Regions from separate parts of the Homo sapiens genome. Here region 2 is linked to region 1. Evidence: promoter capture Hi-C in human tissues and cell types (Jung and others, 2019). All regions are on one chromosome and are shown on one strand. Each heading gives the region's core, a stretch centred on a gene start or on the middle of the fragment in contact. The rest is flanking DNA. Distances are from core to core; before and after follow the strand shown. Region 1 holds the start of PLIN3 (perilipin 3). Region 2 holds the start of ZNRF4 (zinc and ring finger 4).

Evidence for each region. The method cuts DNA at HindIII sites, captures the fragments that hold promoters and counts their contacts. A contact is called where the count stands out against the background at its distance.
Region 2: the fragment with the promoter of ZNRF4 here is called in contact with the fragment with the promoter of PLIN3 in region 1 in 4 of the 25 tissues and cell types used here (IMR-90 fibroblasts, dorsolateral prefrontal cortex, heart right ventricle and 1 more).

Annotation. Positions count from the first base shown.
Region 1 is chr19:4,866,217-4,870,349 of GRCh38, forward strand. It overlaps PLIN3 (perilipin 3), which reads right to left and starts at 1,451. Exons shown (of 8, transcript NM_005817.5): 1 at 1,393-1,451. RefSeq lists enhancers at 419-768, 711-1,211, silencers at 1,429-1,608, 4,032-4,133, 4,073-4,133 and a cis regulatory region at 3,865-4,133. The HindIII fragment of the contact is 15,856 bases long and covers 1-4,133 here.
Region 2 is chr19:5,453,352-5,457,226 of GRCh38, forward strand. It overlaps ZNRF4 (zinc and ring finger 4), which reads left to right and starts at 2,066. Exons shown (of 1, transcript NM_181710.4): 1 at 2,066-3,505. The coding sequence starts at 2,141. The coding sequence ends at 3,430. The HindIII fragment of the contact is 14,927 bases long and covers 812-3,875 here.

The sequences.
Region 1 (4,133 bases), core at 201-2,700:
CATGTTGGCCAGGCTGTTCTCCAACTCCTGACCTCAAATGATCCGCCCACCTCAGCCTCCCAAAGTGCTGGGATTATAGGCGTGAGTCATCCTGCCCAGCCCAGAATGGGTTCTAATCCCAGCTTGGCAACTCACTAGGAATAGGAGTTTGGGAAGGCAGCATCCCCTAGGAGTCTTGCTTGCCACATCTGTGAAATGTGTATAAGTGTTTCACAAGAGCCTGGAGTCCCTGTGGACTGGAGGAGACGCTGCTCCGGGGAAGCTCAGATCCGTGCCCGGCACATAGTAAGTGCTCCATAAACTATCTCACCGCACTCTGGCTTCCACGGACAAAGGGGTAAAGCCAGCCAGGAACCAGCTTCCTGCTAGGTACAAAAGTCCCCCAACTGGGAAGTCAGGTGAGAAGACATACCTACCTCCCAGTGATCATTGCCTAAATCTGTGCTTCTCCTCACCTCCTTTGGAGCCTGAGCTCACCTGGGCAGGGGGCCAGGTAGGCAGGCATCAAACTCCTGGCCTCGACCGATTCTCAAGTCCCACTTAGGACTCAGGCAGCTTCCTCCCGTCCCCTCTGTCCACCATGACTTCCTGGAACTGGTTTAAGCAAGGGTGGCCATGGCAGATGTCAACACCCTATGAAACCCCTGGGGGTCAGTGACCTGCCTTGCCGCTGGCTCCAGAAGGGGAGCTCCAGGCCAGACCCAGCCATCCAGCAACTTCAGAGCATGCTAAGACTGGACTTCCAAAATTCCAAGGGCCCCAGGTCCCACTGCCAGGCCTAGCCGGGACAAGAACCCCAAAGCAGTTAACGGATAGGCCTTCCTACTTTTAAGCCACCTCGTCGCCACGCCCACCCGAGGGAAGTGGGCAGGCTTTGCCCAAGACCTCCCCAGAATCAGTTGGGGGCGCCAGGAGCTGGGGCAACCCCCACCCCCACCCGTGGCAAAACCATCTGTAGGGGAGGGGGCTTTGCGGTGGCGGGGGGTGTCTCTGAAAACCCCAGAAGGGAGGGCGGAGATTCTGCCCGCAGGAGGAAACTTGCCTGCAAATGGCGTTTCCAAAAGCAAACTGTTCAAAATTTAGAGAAAACCTGGTGGGCGGGGGGCGGTATTTAGCCCACCCCCTTCAATATCACCCCTTCTACGGGGCTCTTTCGCCCCTCAAAAGTCCCAGGAAGTGAGAAGAGGGTTTCAAAGTCTGAGCTTCGTTGCAGAAGTTGGATTTTTCTGGGGGGAGGGGTGACCAGCCTGGGCTGAAGACCCCTCCCCAGGCCGCAGAGTCCAGCAAATCCCACCCCGAGAAAGGCCCTCCCCGACCCCTCCGGCCCCTGGGGTGCCCCAGGACTCCATGGACACCGCCCCCCAGCTCAACTGAGACGCCCCCGCCACTCACCGCGGTCAACCGGACGTCCCAGGAACAGCTGCCGCGACTTCAAAACCAGCTTGGAAACCGTCCGGGCCGAGGCGGGGGTGGCTTTTACTGCGTGGTAGGTTGGGGGCGCACTGGAGTGACGGGCGAGGGGACCAATCAGGTTGAGGGATTGCCCGCGCCAGGCCCGCCCCTCTCCTCCCTGCCCCGCCTCCACTAGGCCCCGCCCCTCGCCAAGTCATGAAGTCCGGGAAGGACTCCACGCCCTGCCCCTGAAGGGGAGGGAGCACTCTTGGACCACGCCTGTCCCAGCCACGGGACCCCCGCTCCGCAGCTGGGGACCCTGTGAAGTTGGCCCTGGGAGGTGAGTGCGATCGGGGGCGCCGCACAGGTGCTGGGATTCCCCAGGTCGCCCATTTCCCCTATGGCCAAACTGAGGCTGCGAGAACCCTGGGAGAGTTGCAGGGTGACCCTCGCCAGCGCGTCAGGGGCCACGCCCTCCACCATGGGCTCCGACTCAGCTATATGTACACACACACACACACACACACACACACACTTTTTTTTTTTTTTTGAGACACAGTCTCGCTCTGTCGCTAAGGCTGGAGTGCAGTGACGCGACCTTGGCTCACTGCAGCCTCCACCTCCTGGATTCAAGCGATTCTCCTGCCTCAGCCTCCTGAGTAGCTGGGATTACAGACACGTGCCACCACGCCCGGCTAATTTTTTGTATTTTTAGCAGAGACGGGGTTTCACCATGTTGGTCTTGAACTCCTGACCTCAAGTGATCTGCCCGCTTGGGCCTCCCAAATTGCTGGGATCACAGGTATGAGCCACCGCACCCGGCCCAACCCAGCTATATGAGTGACTTGAACCACCACGGGAACTTGTCCAGCCTCCGGCCTGATCTGCCCAACATCAGACCACTTCATCCTCCCAGCACTGTATTGTCTTTTTAATCATCCCTATTTTGCAGAGAAGGAAACTGAGGCCTGGAGAGGGTCAGCCAGGGGCAATGGAGGGGTCAGGCTCCAGGCTCTGTGACTGCTGGATCAACCTTTTCCTGAAGCTGCCCCCACTTGGATTTTACCCCGCCCCTCTCCACCTCCCAAATTATTTATCCTCTTGGTCTATAAACCAAGGTCTCAATCTCAGATGGTCCAGGGAGGAGGTGAATATTTCTGCTGAGGAGGTGGCAGTGATGCCCTGCTTAGAGGGGCAGGGGAGAGCAGTGCCCTATGGGAGACCCACCTGGAGAGTCACAGATCCACAGGAAGTTCAAGCTGTAGACATGTCCTGCCTGTTAGGGAACAATTGGACCAAATGAAACCCAACTGGGGCTTTGTCCAGCCCAGGGGCCACCAGTTTGCCACCTCTGCCAAATTATTTGAATAGAATGAAGCTTCTGGTAGCTTTAGAAAGAACATGGGAAAAATTGGGTGTCTGTGACTGCATTTTTTTGGGGGGGTGAGTGGGGACAGGGTCTATGCTAGCACTGTCCAATAGAACTTTCTGCAATTCTAGAATTGTGTGCCATCCAACATTGTAGCCAAAAGCACCACGTGGCTAATGCACAGTGAGAAGCTGAATGTTTAAATTTTTTTTTTTTTTTTGAGGCAGAGTCTCGCTCTGTCTCCCAGGCTGGAGTGCAATGGCGCGATCTCGACTCACTACAACCTCCACCTCCCGGGTTCAAGCGGTTCTCCTGCCTCAGCCTCCCAAGTAGCTGGGATTACAGGCGCGCGCCACCACACCCAGCTAATTTTTGTATTTTTAGTAGAGACGAGGACTAACCATATTGGCCAGGCTGGTCTCGAACTCCTGGCCTCAAGTGATCCACCTGCCTCGGCCTCCTAAAGTGCTGGGATTACAGGTGTGAGCTACCGCGCTTGGCCTGAATGTTTAAATTTAAGTAACTTCAGGCAGCTAGTGAGATTCTCAAGTGAATCTGAGACCCCATTCCATGACATTTGTAACAGGCTTTTTCCTTCTCATTCACTCATTCAACCATATTTATTGAGTCCTTGCGCTGGGGACAGCGGTGAGCTAAACAGATAAGAATTCCAGCCCTGGTGACACACACTACCCAGTGGGAGAGACGAACAAGGAACAACATAAGTGAGAGAACTTTACAATGTGTCACGTGGTAGGACAGCAAAGGACGAGATGAATGTGGGGGATGCGGGGATTTTGTTCTTGTTTTTTGTCAAAGAGTCTCACTCTGTCACCCAGGCTGGAGTGCAGTGGCACGATCTCGGCTCACTGCAACCTCCGCCTCCCAGGTTCAAGAAATTCTTGTTCCTCGACCTCCCAAGTGGCTGGGATTACAGGCCTGTGCCACCATGCCTGGCCAATTTTTGTATTTTTTTTTTTTTTAGTAGAGACGGGGCTTCACCATGTTGGCCAGGCTGGTCTCGAACTCCTGACCTCATGTGATCCACCAGCCCTGGCCTCTCAAGGTGCTGGGTTATAGGCATGAGCCACCACACCCGGTGGGGCCGCAGTTTTTAGTAGGGAGGTCAGAGGAGGCCTTTCTGAGTGACATCCAAGAAGAGAAGAGAGAGAGGCCAGGAGGGAACCATGTCCAGTTAGGGGGAACAGCATTCCAGGCAGCAGGCACAGTCCGTGCAAAGGCCCTGAGGCAGGACCACACCCTGCCTGTTAGAACAGTGAGGAGGCCCCAGTGGCTGGAGTACAGTGAGTGAGAGAGAGGGAGGAGGGGAGGGCTGGGATGGCTCAGAGAGGGGAAGTGACTCATCCAAGAT
Region 2 (3,875 bases), core at 816-3,315, 590 kb after region 1:
GCCTACACCGCTGTGGTTGGGTCTTGCTTACCACAGCCAACCCGAGCCTGACCGCTACATTTGTCCCTCTCTGCTTCTGTTTTTCCACTCTTGCCTCCTCTCATGCCTGCTGGACTGAAAAACCTGCCTCTGCTTGGTAGCACTGGGCTGCAAGGGCCATCCACAGTGGCCAAGGCAGTGGCCTCTAGATAGTGTGGCCTCCGTCTGTGGCAGTAGACAGAGCAGGGGCAGGAGTGCCACCAGGGGCCGGGCATGGTGGCTCACAAATGTAACCCCAGCACTTTGGGAGGCTGAGACTGGCAGATCACTTGAGGTCAGGAGTTCGAGACAAGCCTGGGCAACCTAGCAAAACCCCCGTTTCTATTAAGATACAAAAATTAGCCGGGCATGGCAGCATGTGCTCGTGGCCTCAACTGATCTGCCCGCCTCGGGCTCCTAAAGTGCTAGGATTACGGACATGAGCCACCATGCCCGGCCTTTTCTCCCTTTCTTAGAAGGAAAACCTCTGCAAAGATCTTATTTCCAAATAAGGTCCATTCACAGGGGTTGGTCAGAACCAGGGGTTAGGGGTTCAACATCTCTATTTGGGGCCCACCCACTACATGGTACAAGAGATTTGTGTGGGAGGTGATCTCAGAAGCTGTGGGAGGGGAGAGAAGTGGGTGGGGAAGGGAAGGAGACAGTAGCGGGCTCATTGACAAGACAGTACTGGGTTCGTTGACTTATGGAGCTCATTCGACTGGGGACCTCTAGGAGATATGGTAGAACATACTTCGATTTGTCCCATAAGAGGGACGAGGGAGTGGGGGCATTTATCTACCACCTCCCATCTGTCACTGGCTGAGGGCTGCTCTGAGAGGTATTAGGCCAACACAGAAAATCTAAAGACTAAGTAGTCAGCCTGGCAAAGTGAAGTTGAGGAGCAAGAATTCTGTTCCAGGCAGAGGGAACAGCATTTGCAAAATTCTAGAGGTGAACAAAGCAAGATGCCTCTGGGACATTGCAAATCATCCAGGCTTCAGAGATTGGCAGGCGCCCAACCACAGGGGTGCATGTAGGCCACAGAGAAGAGTGTGGGCTTTATCTGGAGGGCAATGGGGAGCCATGGGAGAGTTTAGAGCATGGGAAAGACTATGTTACAGGTCTGGAAGCTGAGGCCCAGAGAGGCTAAGGAATTTAGCTGATGTCATACAGCTTATGAATGGCAGAGACAGAAATCCGACTTGAGTGGGCTGCAGACAGATTGAGGGTGTGAAATTTGGGGGATGGGGACTGGGGAGGAGGTGAGGCTGATGCCCAGGGCTGAAGCTCAGGCAGGGGGCACAGTTGGAGACCCAGCTGGAGAGGCAATGCTATAGGGAGAGAGAATGAAGCTGGTGCAAGCCTGGAGGCCAACCTGGCGGTGCGGACTTGGGACCACTGACCCCCACCAGCCCCACCCTGACCCTGGCACTTGACTCTCCCTCCAAATCAAGTCCAGGAGGGCTCTGAGGATATATGGACTCAGACCTGAGTCCGGATAAAAGAGCCAGCTACGGAGAGAAAGGGCTTTCCAGGCAGGAGGCCCAGCCCATGCAAAGGCCCTGGGGCAGGATCCTGCCTGGTGTGTTGGAGGAACAGCAAGGAGATCTGTGTGGCTGGAGCAGAGTGAGGGATGGTGACAGGGGGTCAGGAATTTGGGTTTTAAGCACTGATCTCATTGTAGGGGGGCGTGGCTTGAACAAGTCTGGGTCACTCTTGGAGTCTCAGACAAGGGTAACATTGAACCTTCTACAGTGTGTTGCTAGGAACCTCCAGAAGCTGATGCTGGTAGCGTCTTCGCACAGTGAGGGCTGAATCTGCACTGCTGGGGGCCGGCAGCCCTTTTGAAGCATCCCTGGGCCTCCTTGGGTCCAAAGATACCCTGAGCCTTCAAGAAGTTATCTCAAAGCTTGCCCGGGTACCGGCAAATCACAGACCTAGGAATGATCCATTGGCCACAGGCCCAGGCAGCTGGCAGCTCCTGGGACAGAATGTAGCAGGGCGATGTCACAGAAGCTGGGGGCATCTAGAACCCTGGTGACTCCTGGTCTCCATGTCATCTGCCAGAAAGGCCACCTGCGCCAGCACCTCCTGAGACCGGCCTTCAAAGACACGACGCATGCCGCTCTGCCGTCCGGAGCACTTAATGCCTAGAGCCAGCAGGGTCCCAGTGGCCGCGTCACTGCCTCTGAGCCACGCGGTCATTCCAACTCAACTGCCCTCGCGTCCTGGCCACAGGCCCCCTGGGAGACCCCGGAGATGCCCAAAGGCCTCATGCCTGCCGCCTCCAGTGGGACCTAGCAGCACACAGACAGCGAAGCGGGTGACCATGGGGTGGCCACGGCCGGGCCGAGCCCTCGTGGCAGTCAAAGCCTTGCTGGTCTTGTCGCTGCTCCAGGTGCCCGCGCAGGCAGTGGTACGGGCCGTGCTGGAAGACAACTCGAGCTCGGTGGACTTTGCGGATCTGCCGGCGCTGTTCGGCGTCCCCCTGGCCCCCGAGGGCATACGGGGCTACCTGATGGAGGTCAAGCCAGCCAACGCGTGCCATCCCATCGAGGCCCCGCGACTGGGCAACCGCTCTCTGGGCGCCATCGTGCTGATCCGCCGCTACGACTGCACCTTCGACCTCAAGGTGCTGAACGCCCAGCGCGCCGGCTTCGAGGCGGCCATCGTGCACAACGTCCACTCCGACGACCTCGTGAGCATGACCCACGTCTACGAGGACTTGAGGGGCCAGATCGCCATCCCCTCAGTGTTCGTGAGCGAGGCCGCCTCGCAGGACCTGCGGGTCATCCTGGGCTGCAACAAGTCGGCCCACGCGCTGCTCCTGCCCGACGACCCACCGTGCCACGACCTGGGCTGTCACCCCGTGCTGACCGTGTCCTGGGTGCTGGGCTGTACCCTGGCCCTGGTCGTATCAGCCTTCTTTGTCCTGAACCACCTGTGGCTCTGGGCCCAGGCCTGCTGCAGCCACAGACGGCCGGTGAAGACGTCTACCTGCCAGAAGGCCCAGGTCCGCACCTTCACGTGGCACAACGACCTGTGTGCCATCTGCCTGGATGAGTATGAGGAGGGCGACCAACTCAAGATCCTGCCCTGCTCCCACACCTACCACTGCAAATGCATTGACCCCTGGTTCTCCCAAGCCCCCCGGCGCTCCTGCCCCGTGTGCAAACAGTCGGTGGCCGCCACAGAAGACAGCTTTGACTCCACCACCTACAGCTTCAGGGACGAGGACCCCTCCCTACCGGGCCACCGGCCCCCCATCTGGGCCATTCAAGTCCAGCTACGCTCCCGGAGGCTGGAGCTGCTGGGCCGCGCCAGTCCCCACTGCCACTGCAGCACCACGTCCCTGGAGGCAGAGTATACCACTGTCTCCTCAGCCCCTCCTGAGGCCCCTGGTCAGTAAAGATCTAGGGCAGGGAGGGGGGTGCAATGAGGAATGTTTCTGGTCTGAAAAGAATAAAGTGGGTTTGAAAGCGGATTCTCAGCCTCGCTGCTGTTGGGCCACCCGCCTCTGACTGGGGTTGGGGGACACCCATCCCCATCAAGCCTAAGGCCAATCCCCGTTTCTGCGGGCGGGAGAGCGAGGGGTGGTGAGGGCTGGGGGGCCTTTTTGGGGCGGCTGTGACCGTGGTGCCGGAGTGGCTTTGAGACGGGTCGTCTGTGCTTTGGTTCCAGTCCCGGGCACACGGGTCACTCATCCTGGATGGCCTTATTCTTCATTCACATTTTTTCTTTTAAAATAAACGTTTTATTTTGGAACTGGTTTAGATTTCCAGAAAAGTTGCAAAGGTGCCATAGAGTTCTCCAACCCCTTTTACTCCGTTTCCTCTTATGTCTCATGGGATCCC